Linked DNA regions of Homo sapiens: region 1 is linked to region 2. Evidence: promoter capture Hi-C in human tissues and cell types (Jung and others, 2019). All regions are on one chromosome and are shown on one strand. The core of a region is centred on a gene start or on the middle of the fragment in contact, and the rest is flanking DNA. Distances in the headings are between cores, read along the strand shown.

The links. Contacts are between HindIII fragments. The study calls those that stand out against the background at their distance.
Region 1: a fragment that was not itself captured here is called in contact with the fragment with the promoter of KCNK3 in region 2 in 4 of the 25 tissues and cell types used here (aorta, heart right ventricle, neural progenitor cells and 1 more).

Annotation. Positions count from the first base shown.
Region 1 is chr2:26,737,782-26,744,478 of GRCh38, reverse strand. No RefSeq gene overlaps it. Among named protein-coding and RNA genes, the nearest start is that of SLC35F6, 23 kb to the left of the region's middle. RefSeq lists enhancers at 1,523-2,028, 5,544-6,044, 6,045-6,545. The HindIII fragment of the contact is 8,347 bases long and covers 944-6,697 here.
Region 2 is chr2:26,689,418-26,695,501 of GRCh38, reverse strand. It overlaps KCNK3 (potassium two pore domain channel subfamily K member 3), which reads right to left and starts at 2,780. Exons shown (of 2, transcript NM_002246.3): 1 at 2,344-2,780. The coding sequence starts at 2,626. The HindIII fragment of the contact is 34,558 bases long and covers 1-6,084 here.

The sequences.
Region 1 (6,697 bases), core at 3,868-6,367, 47 kb before region 2:
CCGGAGTGAAAGTGACCAAGTGGGAGGAGTGTCTGCCTCAGGCCTCTGCACTTCTTCCTCACTTTCTCAGCTGAAGGAATCTTGGAACTATGTGCTTATAGGAAGGGAAATCTTTTTATCCCCCCACGGAAAGGGGCTCTTTGCCCACCACATGAGGTTGTACCTCCTGGAAGAGGCTCCTTGTTAATTCCATCAAGGGGGCATATCAGCTGGCTTTGGCCCTAGTGGAATAGAGTGGAAATTGGTTTTCCTTCCTCAAAAACAGAACTAAAGTCTTTCCTGAGAGCAGCAGATCCCAGTCTTTATTTCTCCAAAACAGTGCTTCCAGAACTTTCCTGTTAAAATGCAGATTCCCAGTGGCCATTACGCAGTGATTCTCGAGAGAGTAGGTCTGGTGACTTGGTCCTGACAGGCCTGGTGGGAAAAAGCAGTTCCAGCTGCTTCAGCCCTCCAGCAGGGGCTGGGGGATGACAAGGACATGGAAAGACCCCAGAGCATGGATGGGAGGGAGCTGGCTCAGGGGCCACAGGGCCCTACCTCAGGGGTGCAGGCTGAGCAGGCAGGTAGGGCAACACTATCCCAAAGCAAATAGCAGTAGCAGGGCGGCCTCTAGGTCTGAGGGGAAGGAGGTGGAGTGGGAGAACATTGCATTTGCAGTCCAAGCTCTGCTCCTTACCTCCTGGGCGACCTCAGACAAGTCACTCAGCCACTTGGGCCTCACCTGTAAGTTGGGCATGGTGATTCCTGCCTGGCATCTGATAGAAACTCAACAGAGGTAGTGGTTTTCTTCCTTGTATTAGATCATCTGAACTTGGCCCGCAGGCCCCTCGGGCAACAGGCCTCAGAGTGTCTCTTGCGCTGTGAGAATAGGGGAGGTAGTGAGCTAGGCCTATGCCCTTTGTAACAGTACCCACACATACCCCTGCCCCTGCTGCGGACCTCCTTGGCTCACCTGTCCCGATCGCTCCCGGATTGTTGGTCTCTTATGGCAACTGAAAGTACAGATGGTCATGACCGCCTCCTGGGTCCTTATCAGGCCTCAGTTTCCCTAGGGGTGAAATGAGGCAGGCTGAGATGCCTCTGGGGCTCCTTCCAGCTCTGGCCAAATCTTGCATGAGGATTTGTTCTGCTCTGTGCTGACTGAGGCAGGGAAGGGGAACCATGTCATCCTTCATGGCCCTGCTGCAGGTGTCCCCTGGGGACCTCGGCTGACTTCCTGACTGCTTTCAGGGTCTCCTCATGAACATGAGGCTTTGTCTGAATGCCATGGTCAGATTTTTCACCATGAACCAACCAGAAGGAAGGGGAGAAGTCCTCTCCATGATTGTCCAAATCAGAGTGGCTTTTTGGCTTTAGCCTGGCTCTGTTACTTTTCTGGTGTGACTCTGAGCTTATCTGAGCTTTCTGTATCGATCCTCCTTATTAGCAAATGGAGGGGAGGAAGAGGTGGTCCCTGTAGGTCCTTTCTATAAAGGCAGGCATACTTGGTCCCACTGTGAGACTCTGTACATTTCCACTGAAGATCCATTCCTCACGCTTTGAGGGCCCTTTTTGAGGCTGGCTGGGGAGCCGAAGCTCCCCCTTCCTAAGCATTTTAGCCGTGGGGTTTAGACAGGTCCACTGGCCTAGTGGAAGCATGAAGCCCTCATTCACAGAGTGGGCACGATTTTGACTGCCTTGCCCACCTCACAGGTTCAGAGAGTGGACAGAAGGAAGGGTCCACTAGAAAGTAAGTACTGTGCTGGTATGGTCGATTACGAGGTCCATTTTTGCAGCCCAGAGCAGGGGGAAGTGGGAGCTGCTGTTCACTTTTGATGCTTGGATTGGGATGGCCTGACAGCAGCCTGGCCCCGGCAGTGATCTGCCCTCAGCATCCTGGAGCCCCAACCACTCCCAGCCATGGGCTGACCCCATGGGAGGTGGCGTCCTAGGGGTGGGTTGTGGGCCTTCCGAGGCTCCTAAGCTGTTAAGTGGTGAGGGAGCCAGGTGGACAGGTGGTACTGGCCCATCCCAGCCTCAGCACACTCCTGCCCGTCACGGCTCCTGCTCCCTGCCCTGAAGGCAGGGCTGCTGGGGCCACCGAGGCCACTGGCATGACTATCAGGACATCTGATTCTTGAGTTGGAGGCCGCTGTGCAAATGCGAGGCTGAGGACAGCCCGGAAGATTCCATTACAGTGTTTTGACAATCTTCTCCCTTGGCTGTGCCACAGGCTCTCCTTGGCCTCCCTGCCAGGCAGGGGAGTAGCTTGTTCTCAGCTCTGGAAGCAACAGCTGGGGCATCCCGGGCCCTCCCAGCCCACAGAGAAGGGCTTGCTATGTGCCCTCCTGCCGTTCCCCTGCCTAGGCTGGTGTAGAGAGAGTGATCTTACAGAGCGCAGGCATTGGGCTACGAACATCTGTCAGGAGTGAGTGATGCCAGGTGAATCTTCTAGAAACTCTAAATTCCATGAAATTTTCCTCCACTCGGAAACTTTTGCTGGCTCCCTGTTGCCTGTGAGTAACAGCTAAGAGCTGAACATCCTGTCTGGTGGATGCCTCCAATGTCTCTTCCATTCTCCCCTGCCTTTCCTTACTCCTTCCCTCCTCCCCACACTTTCACAACCATCTTTGATGCCTATTAAGTGTAGGTATGGCATGAAGCTCCAGAGATAAAACCACAAATGAGATGGACACAGCCCCGGACTCATGGAGCCCACTCCCTCCCCTTCCTAAGGAGATCCCCGGGCTCTTCTCACTGTTCTCCAGCACTCTGGGAACATTCCCCTATGGGGCCTTTGCTCAATTTCCTACACCTGAAATGCTGTTGCCATGTGCTAGATCCCACCATTCCTTCCAGGCTCAGTCAGGCCCAGCCCCGGCCCCATGTCCACACCTCCCCAGCCTTGGAGCCCTCTCTGTCTCACTTGGCACTCAGCCCACACACCTTGACCTTCATTTCTCTCTGCAAAGCTCCATCAGCCCTGTGCTCACACTCATGGTGGCAGACACGAGCGGGTCCTATCCAAGTCCCTCCCTGGGGCCCAGCTCCTAGTACTGGAGAAGGGAGTGGGGGTCCCCATGGGGTCAGCATTGGGCTTATCCAGGAATGCAGACCTGACTGGTCGGGCTGAAGTGCTTTAGGGGCAATTTTGCATCAGGGTCTGTGGTGCTTCTTGGCCAGCCTCATCTGAAGGGAAGCAGGCAGACCACAAGGGAAATAAAAGCATAGCAGAGCATAGCACTGAGGTTTGTATGGTTCCTGCCACACAGCCCAGTCCTCATGCACTCAGGAGAGAGGGCTAAGTCACAGAGAGGGGGCTGTGAGTACAAATCCAAAGCGTTTTCACTAAACCCACCACGAAAGTTTGGAGCACCAGACAACATGCTCTGAAGTTGCAGGAGGGAGTGTCACAGTAGGTGGGTGGGGTTTGAGGACTGTGCTCATTGGGGCAGACTCTGCAGCCTGAGCAGCAGGATGGTCCGCCTGTCTTGACAGCTGTAGGCGAGGAGGAGCCTGTCTCCTTGAGCAGCTCCAGCCCCAAGCGGCAGGTGGCAGAACGATTGGGCCACATGGCGCCTTGTCCCTCACCCTGGTGTGCGTGCCAGCCTAGGCAGAGGTTACCCCATAGTGGTTTAGATGGGATGAGACCCTTTGGGACTCCTCGAAAAAGATGGGAGAGTAATTTTAATAGGCGAAGAAACAGCCAAAGAAATGGGGTTTCATGGGCTCTGGGGATTTTCCATTTACCCTCAGCCTGCTAGGGCCTGAGAGACCCTGTTTGCCTAGGCAGAGGCACAGTGTTTTAGATTAGCTCCTGCCCCATTGACCTTTGCTTGATGTCTGGCTTGTGCCAGCAACACCCCATGGGGACCTCATGGTTGCTTGTTACATCCATATACTGATATGTGTCCAGCTTCGAGTGACACTAGCGACACCTGTGCCGACAGCTGGCCTGGTCTGGGGTGGGCAGAAGTTGACCAGAAGCATTGATGGCCTCCCCGCTGACCCTCTCATAAAGAGGCATGGGGGACTTACACCCCCTACCGTGGCCATCAGAACAAAATGGGTGTAGGTGGGAGTGCTTAGCTCATCTGCTGGGCCGTGTGCAAAGCCTCTATGGTTTGTTTTTTCCTAAACAGCTTCTTTGAGATAAAACTGACATAAAATAAACTACACATATTTAAAATGCAGAATTTGGTAAGTTGACAGATGTATATACATGTGAAGCCATAACAGAGAGCAAATGCATCCTTCGCCCCAAACCTTCCCTTGCTCCCCTCCTGCTCCCCGCCCCCTGCCCCCTCAACTTTTTTTTTTTGAGACAGTGTCTCACTCTCATCTAGGCTGGAGTGCAGTGGCACAATCATGGCTCACTGCTGCCTAGACTTCCTGGGCTCGGGTGATCCTCCTTTCTCAGCCTCCTGAGTAGCTGGGACCATAGGTGCGTGCCACCACACCTGGCTAATTTTTTTGATTATTTAGTAGAGATTGGGTCTCACTATGTTGCCCAGCTGGTCTTGAACTCCTGGGCTCAAGGAATCCACCCGCCTCGGCCTCCCAAAGTGCTGGGATTACAGGCGTGAGCCACTGCGCCTGGCCTGCTCACCTTTTTAATCCCAGCCTCCTCCCCTGGGCCAGGGCAACTGTTCATCTGCTTTCTGCCCCTCTAGATTAGCTTCTGTTTTCCGGAACTTTAGAGTAATGGAATCCTTCCATATGTGCCCCTGTTTGTCTGACTCCTTCTGCTTTTTGTGTGTTTCAATAGCTTCTTCCTCTTCATGGCTGTATTGTATTCCTTGCCACACATATACCCGGCTAATGTATCCATTTCCCTGTGGATGGACACGCAGGCTGTTTCCAGTTTTGGCCTGTTACAGATAGAGTTTTGAAGCTGGTGCAGATAGGGGAGAGCGCTAGCCAGGGAGCCCAGAGGCCCATTCCCTCCCTCTTTTTTGTGAGACGGAGTTTCACTCTTGTCGCCCAGGCTGGAGTGCAATGGTGCATTCTTGGCTCACTACAACCCTACCTCTTGGGTTCAGGTGATTCTCCTGCCTCAGCCGCCCGAGTAGCTGGGATTACAGGCACCCGCCACCACGCCCGGCTAACTTTTTTGTATTTTTAGTAGAGACGGGGTTTCATCATGTTGGCCAGGCTGGTCTCGAACTCCTGACCTCAGGTGATCTGCCTGCCTTGGCCTCCCAGAGTGCTAGGATTATAGGCGTGAGCCACCGCGCCCGTCCTCCCTCCCCTCTTTGTCTTACTGTTCTCTTCTGAAACATGAAGCATTGGACTCACAGTTCCTAGGGGCCCTTGGCTTTAACAGTTGGCTTCCTTCATTTTTCTCTGTTAATGCTGTGCTCCTGTGACAGTGAGGGCCAATGGCAGAGGCTGGGCCTGCTCAGGACCTGGGGGTGCTGGGCTCTGCACTGCCCAAGCCTCATTCTGGAATTCAAGTGGTAAGTTTGTAGACCCTCAGCTCCGGTGAGCTTAGGCTACAGAATTTGGAGCTAGAAAGGACCTGAAGCATTGTCTGTATGGTCGCCTGACTGGGTGCATGGGTCCCCTGAAATGCGTGTTGAGGATCTGCTGGAGCCAGCCCATTGTGGCAGCAGAGCGCTGACGCTTGAATCCCATCCACCCTGGGGGGCTAGGGAAGGGTGGGGTGGGGCTGGGTTTGTCCCACCCCTACTGTCTCCACTGTCCCCTTCCCCCACCATGGCCAACTGGCCTCCCTCCCTGCCTCCCAGCAACCTCAGCAATGCCCTACTTAGACCCCGGAGAGGGGTCTGCCCATCTGTTCACCATGATAAGGCTGGAGGGGGCGGTGGCAGTGGGTTCCTATTGTGTCTGTGGCACCAGATTTGGAGATTAACTCCAAATCACTTCGGTCTCAGGAACAATGAAGTGGCTCCCCCACAGCCTGATGTCACCCCACCAACCTGCTGCTCCCTCTGGGAAGGGAGGATCAGGAAGGGATGGGCTCTGGCTTACTCTGCCTTCCAGAAGCTGCTGAAGCAGCATCTGGGATCCCCATTTGCTCAGGGGCAGGGATGAGGTTGGGGGGCACACCTGGGAAGGCAAAGAAAACAATGTGGCCCCAAGGGCCAGAGACTGTGGTGGCTGGATGGATGTGGAAGGTGGAGCCATGTGGCCTTGGATTCGAAACCTGGTTCTGCCACTTGGGTGACCTTGGATAAGTAAGGTGACCTCCCTGAGCCCCAGTCTCCTCACCTCTGGATGGGGATAATTGTACCTCCCTCTGCAGGGGTGTTGGGAGAATTGAGTAGCACTCCTAGCCCAGCTCCTCGCACATGCTTCATATCTATTGTTTGCTCCACACACCTCAGCCCCAACTGATCTAAGAGCCCTGGCCATCAAGTTTCCTGTGGCACATTTCAGTCCTTGGAGGCTGTCCTGAGTGATAAGGGACAGCCCTCTTGCTCCCTCTCTTCAAGGACAGGACAGGTGCCTGAGAGAGGAAGGGGCTCAAGTCTGAGCTGGGAACGGGCTGGGAAGGGCCATGCCCAGGTCAGGAGCTAGGGATGGGGTTTGGGCTGGGCAGAGCTTGGCTAAATGAAGAAGCCCAGATAAAGTGGTGGTGGCTGGGGGAGAAAGGGTGAAAGCTTAGTCAGGGAAGGAAGTGCCTTTTTTATTTTTATTTTTATTTTTATTTTTTTGAGACAGAGTCTCGCAGTGGCGCAATCTCGGCTTATTG
Region 2 (6,084 bases), core at 1,531-4,030:
ATCCTCACAGTGAGACCTGCAGTTGTCCAGAGCAGTGGCCTGGGAGGCTTTGAGGAGGAGGGGGGATTTGAGCTGGACCTGGAAGGTTAGCATGGACAAGATAAATAGAAGGTAGAGCCAGGCGCAGTGGCTCACACCTGTAATCCCAGCACTTTGGGAGGCCCAGGTGAGAGGATCGCTTGAGGCCAGGGGTTTGAGGTTGTGCTGAACTATGATTACACCACTGCATTCCAGCCTGGGTGAGACAGAGTGAGACTCTTTCTCTCAAAAAAAGAAAAAAGAAAAGAAAAAGGGCAGAGAAAAAGGCATGCCAGACAGGCATACTTAAGGTATTCTCAGAGGACAGGTTGGCAGCTATCGAGAGGGATCACATAAGTAAGAAGTGAGATGTGAAGTCAGACATAGAGGTTGGAGCCAGGTATGGAGATCCTCAAAATTTGAGATAAGGAGCATAGACCAGATTCCATGGACAGTGGAGAGTCATTGAGGGATTCCAAGAAGGGAATTGGTTTGGTGACAGCTGAGTTTTTCTTTCTGGCAGCATTGTCCAGGGGAGCATGCCTTGTTGTGGGGTAGGCAGGGAGGTCAGTTGGGAGGTTACTATGAAGCTGGGGACCATGGGCCTGAGAAGGAAAGGGGACACGCGTGAAGGCTTGACGTGTGGAAAAGAGGGAGAGAGAGGGTCCAAAGATGTTCAGTCTGATTCTTTTGATTCTCCAGACAGCTAAACAGCTACTGAAACCCTGGCAAATAGTAGTGGGGTGTGAGAGTGGAAGAGACTGCAGACCAAATCTGGGCTGGTGTTTTTCAGGAAGCGGGCTCCTCTTTGGGCAGACCTAAGTCTGATCATCCTATCCTAAACTCACAGGACCAGTAGGACCCAGAGGTGCCCCAGCTGGGCCACATCCACTCCCAGGGCCCTTTCCTCCCTCTTCCAAGAGAAGAATCCAGAAACGACACAGCATAGCTCCCCATGGTCCCCAGGGAGCCGTAGATTCTTGGAACAGTGTCCTGCAGTGGATAGACCGCAGGAAGAGTGTCTAGTCCTGCCTTTTACTCCCTCAGCTCCTGTTGACTCCCAGGAAAACAATGCCATCTTCATGGGCTGCGCTAAGTGGCAACGAACCCCTGGGAGTCTGATCAAGGCAGGGAAGGGGACTAGGGAGAGGAGAGGGAACAGTAAAGACAGAGGAAACTGCTTCTGGAGGCATCTCAATGGGCTTTGGGGGAAGGTGGGTTTCATCTCAGAATCCAAGCACGTCGGGGCTGGGGAGGAGCTCTTGAGATCATTTTGGCCACCCCTCCTTGTCTGGAGGTGAGCCTGAGACCCAGACAGGGGAAGGGACTTGCCCAAGGTCATATATCACGGTAGTGATGGAGCTGGGCTGAAATCATAGGGTGTTGGGGACAGGTAAGGTGTTATTCCCGTCTGGACAGTTTTGAATAGCACCACCAAGGGCCTGGCTAGAGATTCCTTTCCTGGGCAACGTTTGTTCTCTCTCTCTCTCTCTGTCTCTCTCTCTGTGTGTGTGTGTGTGTGTGCCCGCCCTGTGTGTACCCTGTGAGTGCCTGTGTGTATCTGTGTGCATGTGTGCCTATGCCTGTGTTGTCTGACAGTCTGGGTGTACGTGTGGCCTCCTACATGGTGATCTGCCCTGGCTTGGAAAGAACTGGGGTTATTCCTGTGAGGTGACTGTTTTGCTGGGACAGCAGAGAAGAAGGCTGACAAGGCCAGATCTGGCTTCCCGCACCAATTCTGCCGCTCTGAGAAAATCACAGGCACTGACTGGTGGCGACCAAACTCCTGGAGCTGAAACACGCAGACACACGTACACTCACAGCCGCCGTTATAGGGTGGCCCCAAGTGCCCCGAAGTGCCGCATTCCGACATCCTCATGCCTCCCCAGAGCCCAGCAGGTGTAGACCTGCTAGGCTGTGGAAGCCGATCCTCAGGGATACGGAGCACTGGCGCTCTCCCGCCGCTCACTCTCAGCGCCCTGTTCAGGGCCTGGCCCGGCCACACCCCTCCTGCCCGAGCCTCCGCCGGTCGTCCCTGCCCCTCTCACACACTTCGGAGTCCCTGGGGGCCTATGCAACATGGCAGGGCCAAGTTAGGGCTGGCCCGGCCGGAGAGTCAGGTCCGGAGCCAGGAATCGACGCCTCCCCGAGTTCCGTCCCCGCGGAGCACACACGCCAGGCTGAACTCGGGTTTCTGCGAGCGCAGGGTTCGGCGCCCAGCCCCTCTCGGGGGAGCCCCCGCCCCCAGCCCCAGCCGGCCCCGGACGACTCCCGGAGCCCCGCGCCCAGCCCTGGGTTCCCGCCCCCCGCCCGGCGAGCCGTTACCGATGGTGGTGATGACGGTGATGGCGAAGTAGAAGGAGCCGGCGAAGCGCCACTGCACGCCGGCCTTGTGCGGCTTGAGGCGCAGCACGACGCGCTCCAGCTCCTCGTAGCCGCCCTGGCTGAGGTTGTAGCGCGCCCGCAGCTCCTGCTGCCGCAGCTCCAGCCGCTGCCGCTCGATCAGCTCGGGCTCCGACTCCAGCGCGTCGAAGACCGCGGCGCCCACCAGCAGGTAGGTGAAGGTGCACACGATGAGCGCCAGCGTGCGCACGTTCTGCCGCTTCATCGTCCCGCCCGGGCCGCCGCCGGCCCCCCGGCGCCCCCGGCCCGCGCCTCGGCCCCGGCCGCCGCTGCTGCTGCCCCGGAGGCGGCCTGGGGCATGGCTGCGCTCGCCGCTCTCCGCGCCGGGCACCCGCTCAGCGCCCGGGGCCGCCGCCGCCGCCGCCGCCGCGGAGCTGTCCCTTCAGCACCACCCACCGCCCTCCTCCGCCCGGCCCCGCGCCCGCCCCCCGCCCCCCGCCCGCAGGCCGCCTCCTCCCGCCAGCCCTCCCGCCCAGCCAAATAAGGACTGGGGAGACGCGCCGAGGAGGGAGGAGGGGGGCTGGCGGAGGGGACGGGAGGGGCGGCCGCGAGAGAGCCCGGGCAGGACAGAGAGAGAGAAAGAGAGAGAGAGCGAGCCCGAGAGACAGAGAAAACTAGACAGCGAAACGCTGATAACTACGGAGAATGGGAGAAAGGCAGTGTAGGACTGAGGGAAGGGGGCTGTGTGACAGAGGAGGAGATAAAATCAGAGGTGCACTCAGACAGAAAAAGAAGAGAGGCGGGCAGAAAAATACAGAGCAAAAGATGGAAACAGAGAGAGCAACAGACTGAGACAGAGAGGCCTGGATTGCTGGAGATAAACTAATGACAGAGAAACAGACAGGAAGGCAAGGAAGGCAGAGCGAGCCCCTCCCCACCCCACCCTCCACCCTCATCACAGCATATTGCAGCCAGGAGGCACTTGGGGCCTCGCTGTCCTGCCCTTATCCTATGGATGAGGAAATGGAGGCCCAGAGAGGTCAAGTGACACGCATGGGCACGCAGTGATTTCGTGACAGCACTGGGACTCAGCCAAGCGTTCCTTCCTCCCAGGCCACACTCCTTCCTCCCTTGGGCCAGACTCTGGCTGTCTTGGAAGCAGGCAGGGCCCAGCTGTGGACCTGGGCACACATGAGCTGACACCCAAGGGAAAGCCCTGTTCTCAGGCAATGTGTGCCTTCCCAGGTCAGCACAGTTCTTGGAACTGGCTGAGAAGGCACAGGCTGGGAGTCTAGGCCTCCTGCTTCGCTCCCAGGGGCTTCTAGGCTGTCCCGACTCCCATGGTTCCTGTCTTGCACCCGTGCACCAGGCTGGGCTTAGGCTGAGTTGCCAGAGATAGCACCTGCCACCACCTTAGGGCATCCCAGCAGAACCGGGATCTAGCTGGAATTGGGCAGGTGGGGCCCAGAGCAGGAGGCTCACTGGCAGACTGCGGGAACTGGGGCAGGAGAGGGGGTCCCTATGCCTCAGTTTCTTCATTTGTCAAACATGGTGGCTATGGTGGTGAGGTGGGAAGGGTAGTGGAAACTCAGGCATTACTGACCCTCTCAGAGCCTTGTTTCCTTATCTTTTCAACGAGGTGTCGTAGCAGATGATCCCACAGGCCTTGCCCAGCTCTAAACAACTCCAGACTTGGATGGGCTGAGTGAGCAGAATGATTGGAATGCAAATCTCAGTGCCAAGAAGGGTTAAAAAGTCCTTCACAGGACCCTGGCATGGGCCAGGCAGAGAGACAGGGAAGAGACACCAAGGCCCCTGACTGAGAGCAGACTCAGGAGGCAGTCAGCCAGAAGCTGGAGCACTGTCTACCCACAGGCTGGGCTGACCTGTCACTGCCGGACACTACACTCCTCCAATGACACCCCAGAAGTGCCACCAACCCCTTCATTCCTTCAACAAGTATTTATTAAGCATCTGTTGTGTGTCAGGGATTCATCATCTCTGGTCCTCACCACAATCCTGAAAGGTAGGTGTGGTCATGCCTATTTTATAGATGGGGAAACTGAGGCTAAAGGCAATGTAGAGAATCAGTAAATTTCACTCAGCTGGGAAGAGGCTTCAGTCTGTCTGCCTCTTAAGCCCATGCTCTTTGCCATGACTCCTTGAGTCTCTCTTTTTTTTTTTTCAATTTGTAAAGTGGAATAGATAATAATATTAGCTCTACCCGCGTCTTGAACCATTTGTTTTGAGAGATCAAAGAAGAACACATGTGTGCAAATCAGATGATATGAGGCTCTCTAATGACTTCAGAGCCCAATGGGAGGGTCCTACATTTATAGCACCATGTTCCCCCTCCCTCTTCAAGGGAAGATCTTTGTTTCTTTGCAGGCACAGAATTTCTGGTCTTGCCCTCTGACCAGCAACTCAGCCTATTGCAGGCTTTTCCCCTTTGCATCTTCTGGCTCCCTGGAAGGAAAGTACTGCCTTTCCCAGCTTCTCAGAGGTGAAGGTACAAGTTAGGTTCTGTGCATTTCTGATGTATTGGCTCCTGGTGACAGTCACCCCAGAAGCGAATTCCCCCAAAGCCTGTCTAGATGAGCAAGAGGGTTGCTAGACCAGGTTTTCAAGGTGAAAAGGCTGTGTCCAGGTTCTGCTTGCTTGTGACTGCCAGGCCAGACAGCTGTACCGATGAAAGGTGATATTATGAGTGAAAGAGCTTTGGAAAAGGGAAAAAGCTGTCTTTAGGGGCAGGGCATGTATTATTAATCATGATGAAGCTTTTTCTCTGAGCACTTCAATACTGAAAGGACCTTTAGAGATCATTTAGCCCAACCTTCTCATGTTACATATGAGGAAACTGAGGCCCAGACAGTAGGAAGAGTGTTGTCCAAGGTCACACAGTGAGTGAGGGGGAACCAGGACTCATGTCCCAAGGTTGGCACTTTCTTGTTGCACCTATTATGTGTGGGACCAGGGCACCTATCAGTGGGGAGGCCCTGAAGCCCAGAGGGCAGCCTAGGTCTCCTTCTTCCTGCCCCTCCTCTCTCCTTCTCTTGGGGAGAAGGTTCTGGAATAGGAGCCATGTTGGTACCAGTCTAGGTTTCTGAGTAGCCCCTGGGACTTGTAGGCAACCTGGGTCAGATTGTGCCAAAGACATATCAGCTTATCCCATTTCTTCCCATCCTGGGCTCCTCAGACCTGCCTGTGCCTGCCCAGTGTCAACCTGTCTCTGCCACCTGTTTGCTCTGGCATTGGGGGCCAGTCGCTCCTTCTCCTTGAGGCTTGCTGCTCATCCATCAGTGGAGGGGTCTGGACCAGGAAATGTCCACACTCCCTTCATTTATAGCATCCCATGACCTTCCCGGACTCTGTTTCTCTAGTTCTCCCAATAATCAGACAAAAAGAGGAAATAGCACTACTTTTAAGATTCTAGTTTGTGAGGAAAGGGACACAGAGTTAGGTAGGATAAATTGAACAGAATGTGTCATTAGTTACTATATTTTATTATATACTAACATCATACACAATTATTAACCAGCTTTATCTTCCAGTCCATTCTTCTCTAAGTTCTAAACACATCCAAGTACTTCCATGCTTCACATGGCTCATGTGGCTCCCATAACCTGGGATGCTGGTGCCTCCTTGCCTTTCCCATCTTCTGTCTGTTGAACTCCTATTCAGGCTCCAAGACCCAGCTTAAAGACCACTCCCTCCATGAAGCAT